2 separate regions of the Homo sapiens genome follow, and region 1 is linked to region 2. Evidence: promoter capture Hi-C in 16 types of primary human blood cells and fetal thymus (Javierre and others, 2016). All regions are on one chromosome and are shown on one strand. Each heading gives the region's core, a stretch centred on a gene start or on the middle of the fragment in contact. The rest is flanking DNA. Distances are from core to core; before and after follow the strand shown.

Evidence for each region. Contacts are between HindIII fragments. The CHiCAGO score rates a contact against its expected background, and 5 or more counts as called.
Region 1: a contact is called between a fragment that was not itself captured here and the fragment with the promoter of PPM1E in region 2, in 2 of 17 cell types (M0 macrophages and M1 macrophages). The highest score is 6.5, in M0 macrophages.

The regions. Positions count from the first base shown.
Region 1 is chr17:59,042,119-59,047,712 of GRCh38, reverse strand. TRIM37 (tripartite motif containing 37) reads left to right here. Exons shown (of 24, transcript NM_015294.6): 16 at 1-30. Among named protein-coding and RNA genes, the nearest start is that of TRIM37, 62 kb to the left of the region's middle. The HindIII fragment of the contact is 861 bases long and covers 3,867-4,727 here.
Region 2 is chr17:58,751,856-58,757,286 of GRCh38, reverse strand. It overlaps PPM1E (protein phosphatase, Mg2+/Mn2+ dependent 1E), which reads right to left and starts at 1,433. Exons shown (of 7, transcript NM_014906.5): 1 at 826-1,433. The coding sequence starts at 1,289. It overlaps LOC105371843 (a long non-coding RNA gene), which reads left to right and starts at 1,177. Exons shown (of 3, transcript XR_007065866.1): 1 at 1,177-1,256. RefSeq lists silencers at 1,277-1,425, 1,425-1,614. The HindIII fragment of the contact is 8,580 bases long and covers 1-2,113 here.

The sequences.
Region 1 (5,594 bases), core at 3,048-5,547, 290 kb before region 2:
AGAAGAAAATGATATTGATGAAGAAACTATGTGAGTTTCCCACTTTACTACTGTAAAGCATTTAAGTGGTAATTATTAGAAGCATATTAACTAACTCACACTTAAATGTAGGGATATTCAGCACTTTTTTGAAAGATTGAATCAATAGTCAGTTTTCTCTCTCTAATCTCTGGGCTCTTAGCCAATAATTTTTGTTTGTGTTTTAACTTTTAAATTTGAATTTTGAAATTATTTTATACTTAAGAAAAGTTCAGAATTTCATGTTTCCTTCACACAGATTCATTCCCTATGAATATTTTGCTTTATATTTCTCTGTATATAATTTTTTCTGAAACACTTGAGATCGAATATACTTCTCATTGTGTACTTTTCTAAAAACAAGGATATTCTTACATAACTATAGAATAGTTATCAAAATCTGGAAATTAACATTGATGTAATACTGTAACCTTCTAAAAATTTGCCAGTAATGTCCTTTGTCAGGATCATGTTGCATTTAATTGTTAAATCGATTTAGTTATCTTCAATCTGGGTTACTTTTTTTTTTTTCCTTTTTTTTTGAGACGGAGTCTCGCTCTGTCGCCCAGGCTGGAGTGCAGTGGCATGATCTCAGCTCACTGCAAGCTCCACCTTCCGGATTACGCCATTCTCCTGCCTCAGCCTCCCGAGCAGCTAGAACTACAGGCGCCCGCCACCTCGCCCAGCTAATTTTTTGTATTTTTAGTAGAGACGGGGTTTCACCGTGTTAGCCAGGTTGGTCTTGATCTCCTGACCTCATGATCCGTCCACCTCGGCCTCCCAAAGTGTTGGGATTACAGGCGTGAGCCACCGCACCTGGCCAATCTGGGTTACTTTTTTAAAAATTTGTTTTTCGGCTGGGCACGGTGGCTCACGCCTGTAATCCCAGCACTCTGGGAGGCTGAGGCGGGTGGATCACGAGGTCAGGAGATCCAGACCATCCTGGCTAACACGGTGAAACCCCGTCTCTACTAAAAATACAAAAAAGAAATTAGCCAGGTGTGGTGGCAGGCGCCTGTAGTCCCAGCTACTTGGTAGGCTGAGGCAGGAGAATGGGGTGAACCCGGGAGGCGGAGCTTGCAGTGAGCTAAGATCACGCCACGGCACTCCAGCCTGGGCGACAGTTGAGACTCTGTCTCAAAAAAAAAAAAAAACTGTTTTTCATGACTAATACTTTCTGAGAAATACAGAATAGTTTATTTTGTAGAAAGTCCCTCAGTTTGGATTAGTCTGAAGTTTCCTCATGATTAGATAGAGGTTACACACTTTTGGCAGGGATACTACGGAAATGATAATGTATCCTTTTCACTGCGTCATACAGAGTGGAGCATGATGTCAGTATGTCCCATTACTTGTGGTTAATTTTGATCACTTAGTTGAGGTAGCATCCGCCAGGTTTCTTCACTCCAAAATTTGTACTTTTTCCTTTATAATTAATAAGTATCTTATGTATGGGACTGTAAATATCCTATTTTTCATCCTACTTTTTCCTATGAATTTTGACACCCTTTGATGAGTGTTGCCTGAAAAAGGTTACTGTGTTGATTGCCAAGTGGTGTTTTTCTAATTCCATTATTTCTTACTCATTCATTAGTTGCAATTTAAGGAAGAGCTTTTCCTTCTGCCCTGTTAATTGATGAACTAATGAATTTCATTAATGTGGATAATTTTTTTTTTTTGAGATGGAGTCTTGCTCTGTCACCCAGGCTGGCATGCAGTGTCACGATCTTGGCTCACTGCAACCTCCATCTCCTGGGTTCAAGTGATCCTTCCACCTCAGCCTCCCGAGTAGCAAGGATTACAGGCGTGCACCACCACGCCTGGCTATTTTTTTGTATTTTTAGTGGAGACGGGGTTTCACCATGTTGGCCAGGCTGGTCTTGAACTCCTGACTTCAGGTGATCTGCCCACTTCAGCCTCCCAAAGTGCTAGGATTACAGGTGTGAGCCACTGTGCCTGGCGATTTTTGGATTTTTAAACCAAGCTTGCATTCCTGGGACACATCCCACTTGGTCATAGTGTGTAATTTTTTTTCTTTTTTCTTTTTTTTTTTTTTGTGACGGAGTTTCGCACTGTCACCCGGGCTTAAGTGCAGTGGCATGATCTCGGCTCACTGCAACCTCCGCCTCCCGGGTTCAGGCGATTCTCCTGCCTCAGCCTCCCAAGTAGCTGGGATTACAGGCACCCACCACCACACCCAGCTAATTTTTTGTATTTTTAGTAGAGACGAGGTTTCACTGCGTTGGCCAGGCTGGTCTCAAACACCTGACCTCGTGATCCACCCGTCTTGGCCTCCCAAAGTGCTGGAATTACAGGTGTGATCCACTTCGCCCAGCCGTAATTTTTTTTTTCTTTTTTTTTTATTTGAAACGGAGTCTCGCTCTGTCCCCCAGGCTGGAGTGCAGTGGCGCAATATCCGCTCACTGCAAGCTCCGCCTTCTGGATTCACACCATTCTCCTGCCTCAGTCTCCCAAGTAGCTGGGACTACAGGTGCCCACCACCTTGCCCGGCTAATTTTGTTTTGTATTTTTAATAGAGATGGGGTTTCACCGTGTTAGCCAGGATGATCTCAATCTCCTGACCTTGTGATCTGCCTGCCTCGGCCTCCCAAAGTGCTGGGATTACAGGCATGAGCCACGGCACCCAGCAATTTTTTTTTTTTCCTAAGAGAATCTGGCTTTGTGGCCAGGCTGGAGTATGGTGGCATGATTATAGCTCCCTGTAACCTTCAACTCTGGCCTCAAGTGATCCACCTGCCTCAGCCTCCATAGTAGCTAGGACTACTGGTGTGCATCATCACACTCGGCTCATGATTCTTTTTATATGTTACTGCATTCTGTTTGCTAGTACAGTTGTCCCTCAGTATCCTTGCGGTATTGGTTCTAGGACCCCGCCCTTGGATACTAAAATCTGAGGATGCTCAAGTATCTTATATAAAATGGCAGAGTAGTTGCATATAACCTATGCACATCCTCCCCTATACTTTTAAATCATCTCTAGATTACTTATAATACCTAATACAATGCAAATGCTATGTAAGTAGTTGTTATACTCTATTGTATACAGAATAATGACAAGGGGAAAATGTCTGCGCATGACTTTATTTTGTTTTGTTTTATTTATTTTTTTTTGAGACGGAGTTTCGCTCTTGTCGCCCAGGCTGGAGTGCAGTGGCACAATCTCAGCTCACTGCAGCCTCCGTCTCCTGGGTTCAAGCAGTTCCCCTGCCTCAGCCTCCTGAGTAGCTGGGATTATACACGCCTGCCACTACGCCCGACTAATTTTTTGTAGTTTTAGTAGAGACAGGGTTTTGCAATGTTGACCAGGCTGGTTTTGAACTCCTGGCCTCAGGTGAGCCACAGCACCCGGCCGGCTTTATTTTTTGAGACGGGGTCTTGCCCTGTCACCCAAGCTGGAGTGCAGTGGTCGCGTGATCACAGCTCACTGCAACCTCGACCTCCTGGGCTCAAGTGATCCTCCCACCTCAGTTTTCCAAGTAGCTAGGACTACAGGTGCATGCCAACACACCTGGCTAATTTTTTAATATTTTGTAGAGACAGGGTCTCACTATGTTGCCTTACTATGTTCTAGGCTGGCCCGGAGCTCCTAGGCTCAAGAAGTCCCTCCAGCCTCGGCTTCCCAAAGTGCTGGGATTACAGGCATGAACCACCACACCAGGGCTTAAAAAATATTTTTGATCCACAGTTGGTTGAATGCACAGATGCAGAGCCCACAGATAAAGAAGGCCAACTATATTTCGTTGATGCTCTTAATAGTGTTGTATGTTTCTCTGAGTGTTGTATGTGTCTCTGCTTCTCCCCATAGGCAAAATCTCTGAGCCAAAGCTTTGAAGTTGGAGTAAGGATAAAGGTGTACCTCTCTTACTTTAGAAGCTGAGCTAACTGGATGTTGGGGACAGTAGCCTTAGTTCTTTCCTTTTCAGGCTTGGGACCTCCACCTTATGAATAAGCTGGGGCAGGGATGATCTGGGCCCCAGTATTCTCATCATGCTGCATCCAGGTAGAGCATCTAGTCCACAAGTGGGTCTCAGCAGAAGGGAGTCTCCACCTCTTGGCCGTGTGTGCCTGTACTATAGCATCAGCAATAGGTAGCTGGGGGCAGAATGAGAGATGCTGATACCTTGCCACTCCCAGGAATATAGCCCTCCTCTTGGAAGTTCGGGAAGTGGGAGGCCTGTGTTCTTCACTGCACCAGTCTGGAGTGGAATTTCTGTAACACCAAGTTAGGAAGTGGAGTGATCTTGGTTCAAATACTGCAGATGCCCACTTGTCTTACCCAGTTTTTATAGATTTTTTTGAGTAGATGTTTCTTCATTTGCTGTATGCCCTTGGGACCATTTCCAGAGTCGTTAAGTGGTTGTTTTTAAAATAATTGTCACCAGTTTGACTAAAGAGCAGACCTACAGAGCTCCTTACATTGTCAAGCTGGGTGCTTATCTTGAGATTTCCTTAAATACCCAAGACTGTCATTGACTGGTACTGTTTCAAGTAGTATGTTGTTTAAAATAAAGTAATAGTGATTGTTTTTTAACATGAGAGACTTTGTATGGCCGAGTAGGAAGTAATACCCTCTTTGCTGAAATATTATTTTTGAAAAATGGTATTTAGTCATATACAGTAATTTGGGCTTTTTTTGGATGTTAAAATGTAGTGTTTTAAGCCTAACACTACATGTAGTGTTTTAAGCTTATTGCCATTAAGCTACCAGTTCTCTGAAGCTGTAATTTCTTCTAACAGTGGTTCTTGTATTTATTAGTGTTTCTAACACTAATTAAATAGGAGAGATTAATCTCTTCTAATAGTGGTTCTTAGATTTTTTAGTGTTTCATTTATTTCTATTTTTTTGCCTGACACAGTTCTTTTTTTTTAATCTTCCTTTCCTTTCCTTTCCTGTCCTGTCCTGTCCTCCTTGAGACAGAGTCTCGCTCTGTCGTCCAGGCTGAAGTGCAGTAGTGCAATCTTGGCTCACTACAACCTCCACCTCCCGGGTTCAACCGATTCTGCTGCCTCAGCCTCCCGAGGAGCTGGGATTACAGGTCCCCACCACAACGCCCAGCTAATTTTTGTATTTTTAGGAGAGACAGGGTTTTGCCATGTTGGCCAGGCTGGTCTCGAAATCCTGACCTCAGGTGATCCTCCCACCTTAGCCTCCCAAAGTTCTGGGATTTCAGGCGTGAGTCACTGCGCCCGGCCTTGAGATATATATATATATATATATATATATTTTTTTTTTTTTTTTTTTAAATTCCTTTTTTTCTTAGCTTTCTAAGAAGAACTGGCTGATTTTTTTTTTTTTTTTGAGATGGAGTCTCGCTCTGTCGCCCAGGCTGGAGTGCAGTTGTGCAATCTTGGCTCACTGCAAGCTTGCCTCCTGGGTTCACGCCATTCTCCTGATTCAGCCTCCTGAGTAGCTGGGACTACAGGTGCCTGCCACCACACCCAGCTAATTTTTTGTATTTTTAGTAGAGACAGGGTTTCACCGTGTTAGCCAGGATGGTCTCGATCTCCTGACCTCGTGATCCGCCTGCCTCAGCCTCCCAAAGTGCTGGGATTAC
Region 2 (5,431 bases), core at 184-2,683:
CCATCTACTTAATGGACTGAAAATACTGCACCTAATTGCAATTTAATCAAAACAGCCTGACTTTTCCACTTTAATGAATTATGGCTCTTTCACCCGAAGGCTTGCTTGCAAAATTTTGCTTACCCTTCCCTCTCAATTCCTTCCCACTTCCCTCAATTATGGAATGTCAAATGTCTAAACTAAGAGACTAGGCTTCCCTGTGTGAAAACATCTAAAAAGCCCTTCACTTTCAACACTGAGCACCTGACGGAAAATCTACTCCATTCTCTCATCTGGATACGGGGCCGGTATAACCATCATTGTTGCAGTTACGCAGGAGGCACCTCGCAGCTCAGTCTAGAAAGGAGTCGCGTCTCTGCCGCCAAACAACAAGGCACTCAGCCCGGGAAAAGACAGACTGGGGTGGGAGGAAACCTCCCGGAGAAAGAAGGGATCTGGGAAGAAGAGGGAGCTCAAGCCTGGGAGGAAGGACCTTTCCAGGCAGGAAAGGGAAAGGTTGCGTGAAGTGGAGCTAGAAGCTGGGGGCCGAGGTGAAAGGGGATGAGGGGCCCGGGCCCGGCGGGAGGGCGCCGGGGCTCAGGAGAGCGGCTTCAAGGCCGGGTAGGAGGCGTGGGGGCCGAGGCGGGCGTGGGGGCCGAGGCGGGCGTGGGCAGCTCTCAGCCGACCGCCCGGGTCCGAGCAGCGGGGGCGCTTTCAGCGGCGGCAGGCGCGGGTGCGGGGGAGAGGAGCAGAAAAGAGAGCAGTTTGAGGGGCCGAGGGAGCCGCGTCCGAGGCCGGCGCGGTGGGGACCGCGGGCCCACCACCAGCCAAGCCCAGCTACTTAACTATTTGTAGAGCTGCTGCAGGCACAGGTCCAGGCTTTCGCCCTCCACCTCCTCGCGGGTGATGCGCTCTGACAGCGGTCGCGGGAGCGGGGGCAAAGGCGGCAGCTGGGGCGGCGGCGGCGGCACGGCCGAGTGCCCCGGGGCTGCCGCCGCCGTCGCCGCGCCCTCCTCCTCCTCCTCACCCTCAACCGCCGCCTCCTCCTCGGGCTCCGGGTCTTGCTCCTGGTCCCCCTCCTCCGTCGCGGCTACCGTGGCCGCCTCCTCCCCGGGTTCCTCTACCGAAGCCTCGGCCGCCTCAGCTTCTACCAGTTCAGGTTCGGGCTCGGGCTCGGACTCGGGTTCGGGTTCGGGTTCGGGTTCGGGTTCCGGCTCCGGCTCGCCGCCGCCGCACGGTCCGCGAAACTCGCCCAGGAATAGCTCCAGGAAGCGCCGGTAAGTTTTCTCCTCAGGGATGCAGCCGGCCATCGCTGCTCATGCCCCAGGGCAGACCGGGAAAGGGGTTGGGGGAAGCCCAGGAAGGGTAAGGGGCTGCTTTTGAGCCTAGGGCTCCGGCAAGGGCGGTTAACGGCCGCACCGGCACGAGCGATCAGCACTAGGTTGCCTGGAGAGGGCTCCCGCAGGCGTGCGCGCCGCCGAGCACCGACGTGCGCGGCCCGGGGGCGGAGCGCGCCGCCCCTCTCGGATCTGGAGGGAAAGTTGGTGGCGGGCGCGCGCAGGGTCCAGCGGCGGCCCACCCTTTATTCCTACGGAGAGCTCAGCCCACGCTGCCTAGAGACTGTCGCCATGGCAACCGGTTCTAATTAAGCATTGCAGGGTCCCTCCCGTCGAGTCCGCGGAGTCTAAAGGACACTCCACTCGCCCGCTCTCCAACTCTGAATGTCTTTATTGGTTGGATACCCTACCCTCACGTGGTTAAGAGTGAGCTAAGACATCTCCAAGTCTAGCTGTTGGTTCCCACTTGGGTTGCTTGGATCCCAATTGGATGTACTTCCATTTCCTTATCTGTTCCTTGCCTTAGCGTATGTTTTGAAAGATACCACACTGTGAACACCTTTTGTTGCAGTCTTTGAATAAGTAGTTTTCAGGCAGAGGGAGCTTCAAATACCTACCAAGTGATAAGTTCCTTTGCATAGGTTCTCTCTCACTTGATTCTGTGAAGAAAGTGGTGTTACTCTCATTTCTTAAAAGGAAACTGAAAATTATGATATTAATGGTAATTTACTTGTTTCAAGGTCTCCAAACTTCCAGCCTTGGCGTTGGAGAACTCAGGTCGTTCAGTCGCCAAAGCTTTCCGAAAGTGCATTTTTCCTTAACTCAACTCTGTCTCCGGAGATTCAATAGTGCAATTGTCTGTATAACACCTTATTTCTATTGGGCTTCATAGTTTACACATTGATTTCACCCTTTTAATTCTTACCACAGTCCCTTGAGGTATAGGACGTTACCGTTATGATTTTTTTTTTTTTGAGACAATCTCGCTCTTGTCACCCAGGCTGGAGTGCAGTGGCGCGATCTCAGCTCACTGCAACCTCCGCCTCTCGGGTTCAAGTGATTCTCCTGCGTCAGCCTCCCAAGTAGCTGGGATTACAGGGGCCTGCCACCACCCCCGGCTAACTTTTGTATTTTTAGTAGAGACGGGGTTTCACCATATTGGCCAGGCTGGTCTCAAACTCCTGACCTCAGGTGATCTGCCTGCCTCAGCCTCCCAAAGTGCTGGGATTACAGGTGTGACCCACCACGCCGGCCAATTATTCCATTTTATAGGTGAGAAAACAGCCTTAAAGACATGGTGACTTTGCTCAAGGTCACATGCAAGGGATGCAACAAGGACTCAATCCAGGTCTTTTCACTGGATTCACCCACTTCAATGGATTTTACCCATTAGTTTTCAGGCAACCAAGACTCCCCTCTTTAGTCTCTGCATAATGCATATTATACTTCATTATATAATATGTATTTTTTCTTTTCTCTTTCTTTTTTTTTTGAGACGGAGTTTTGCTCTTGTTGCCCAGGCTGTAGTGCAATGGCAGGATCTCGGCTCACTGCAACCTCTGCCTCCTGGGTTCAAGCGATTCTCCTGTCTCACCCTCCTGAGTAGCTGGGATTACAGGCATGTGCCACCACGCCCGGCTAATTTTTTTGTCTTTTTAGTAGAGACAGGGTTTCACCATGTTGGTCAGGTTGGTCTCGAACTCCTGATGTCAGATGATCCGCCTACCTTGGCCTCCCAAAGTGCTGGGATTACAGGCGTGAGCCACCGTGCCCGGCCAATAATATGTATTTTTTCTACATTTTGTTTGCTCTTCTTCCCCATCCCCCCAAGTCTCTTTTTTTCTTTCTTGGGTTGGAATTGAAATGACTTTAAGTGATTCTAATTTTCTTACCAAACTACACACAAACCTATTATTTTTAAGCCTTACTGAAGGAGTGGGAGAGAAAGAAGCTGTGTTGTTATACAGCTGTATAGATGATAGCATCATTACTGCAAACTGCCATGTCCATGGCAACATATAATTCAGCAAAAACATAGTGATTCTTTCTCTACTTTGAAAAACATGTTCTCACAAATTATCCACCCCATCCTCTCCATGTATTGTTTCTGGGTTTCAGTTGGATTTAGGGTCTGAAATATCGTTTCCAGTTATTAATGGCAGAAGAGGGAGTCTCTCTGCCAACTGTTTTCATATAATACTGTATTCTAAATCCCTGACCTGATACTGTTATTTTAAGATTAAGTGGGTTGAGCTCACTAATGTACATTATGGCATCATGTAAAACAGAGTTCCTCTCCTAGCTTGAGATTAAATAATACATGATAGAAAGAATATAGTGAATAATTGCCTTGAGTCCTCTATATTTTTTTCCCAAAGGTAAATGGAAAGATCTAATAAATCTGTTTCCAGAAATGCTGAATGTATTTATATGTGTTTTGTTTAAAACATAACCAGCGTAGAGCAACTTCTCTATGAGGTGCCAAGAAAGTCTTTAAACTCCTCATTTGTCTTTGTTTTCAATCCACCTGTTCATTTCCATTTCAGAATGTCTAGAAAAGATTGACAAAACTTTTTAGGCTGCAAACCTAAATGTCCACAATTTTACATTTCAACAATTGTTTAATATCTCAGAATTTGACATAATGACATTTAGTTCAAGAGTACTTAGCTGTCAACTGTAACAATTCATATCTACGCCTTCCTACTTTGTAACATAGTTGCCTCCCTCATTTGTGACATTAATTTATGACTCAGCCCACATTTCAAAGGAAAGTGATATATGTTGGGGAAACAATACTACTAAAAGAAAAAGCCCACACCTCTACATTACTATAAGTGAGAGGCGTGTTTGCTTATATTAATAAAGATATTCCTTCACAAAGATCAATATGGATCCTATTGCATCCATTTGACAAAGTAGCTTTGCCAGAAGGTAGCTGACAGCAAGTGCTGAGATCTCAGAGCAGCTGTGTAGGATGATTTTGCCATTGTCAAGAAGTCTTTAGTAATTATTTTGCATTAGTTTGCTCTCTTTTTCAACTCCTTTCTTATTACACTTTTCTAATCCCCTTGCATACTATCTATTAAAAAATATTGAGGGCTGGGCATGGTGGCTCACGCCTGTAATCCCAGCACTTTGTGAGGCTGTGATAGCTTGAACTCAAGAGTTCAAGACCAGCCTGGGCAACAAAGAAAAACCCTGTCCCTAAAATATATTTTTTAAAAAGGAGGCCAGGCGCGGTGGCTCATGCCTGTAATCCCAGCACTTTGGGAGGCCGAGGCGGGCGGATCACGAGGTCAGGAGATCGAGACCATCCTGGCTAACACGGAGAAACCCCATCTCTACTAAAAATACAAAAAATTAGCCGGGCGTGGTGGCGGGCGCCTGTAGTCCCAGCTACTTGGGAGGCTGAGGCAGGAGAATGGCGTGAACCCGGGAGGCGGAGCTTGCAGTGAGCCAAGATCGCGCCACTGCACTCCAGTCTGGGTGACGGAGCGAGACTCCGTCTCAGAAAAAAAATAAATAAATAAAAAATAAAAAGGAAAAAAAATATTGTTATGAAAAGTTTAACGTATTTTTAAGGTATCAAATTTTTAAAGTTTTTCTCATAAAAATTATTCTCCCTCTAACCCTTTGCTCTTTGGAGGAAATGTACAATGTCCTTTTGTGGACATTCATAGTAATGACATTTATAAGGTTAAAAAGAATTGTTGAGTTTGGCAGTTTCTTACATGACCCAGCAATTCCTCTCCCAGGTATTTTATTCATGAGAAATAAAACATGTCCACCAAACACACATGCACTTGCACACACCCCAAACACAAAAAAACTTGTACATAACTGTTCACATAAGTTTCATTCATAACAGCTCAAACCTGGAAGCAACCCAGATGTCCATCAACAAATGAACAGATAAAGTAGTGTATTCATACAATGGAATACTACTCAGCAATAAAAATAAATGAACTGCTGATAAACACAACATGGATGAATTTCAAAAATATACTGAGCCAAAAAAAAAAATCCAGGCACAAAAGAGTACATAATATATTTCCATTTGTATAAAATTCCCAAACAGGCAAAATTAACCTATATAGTGAGAGAAAGCAGAT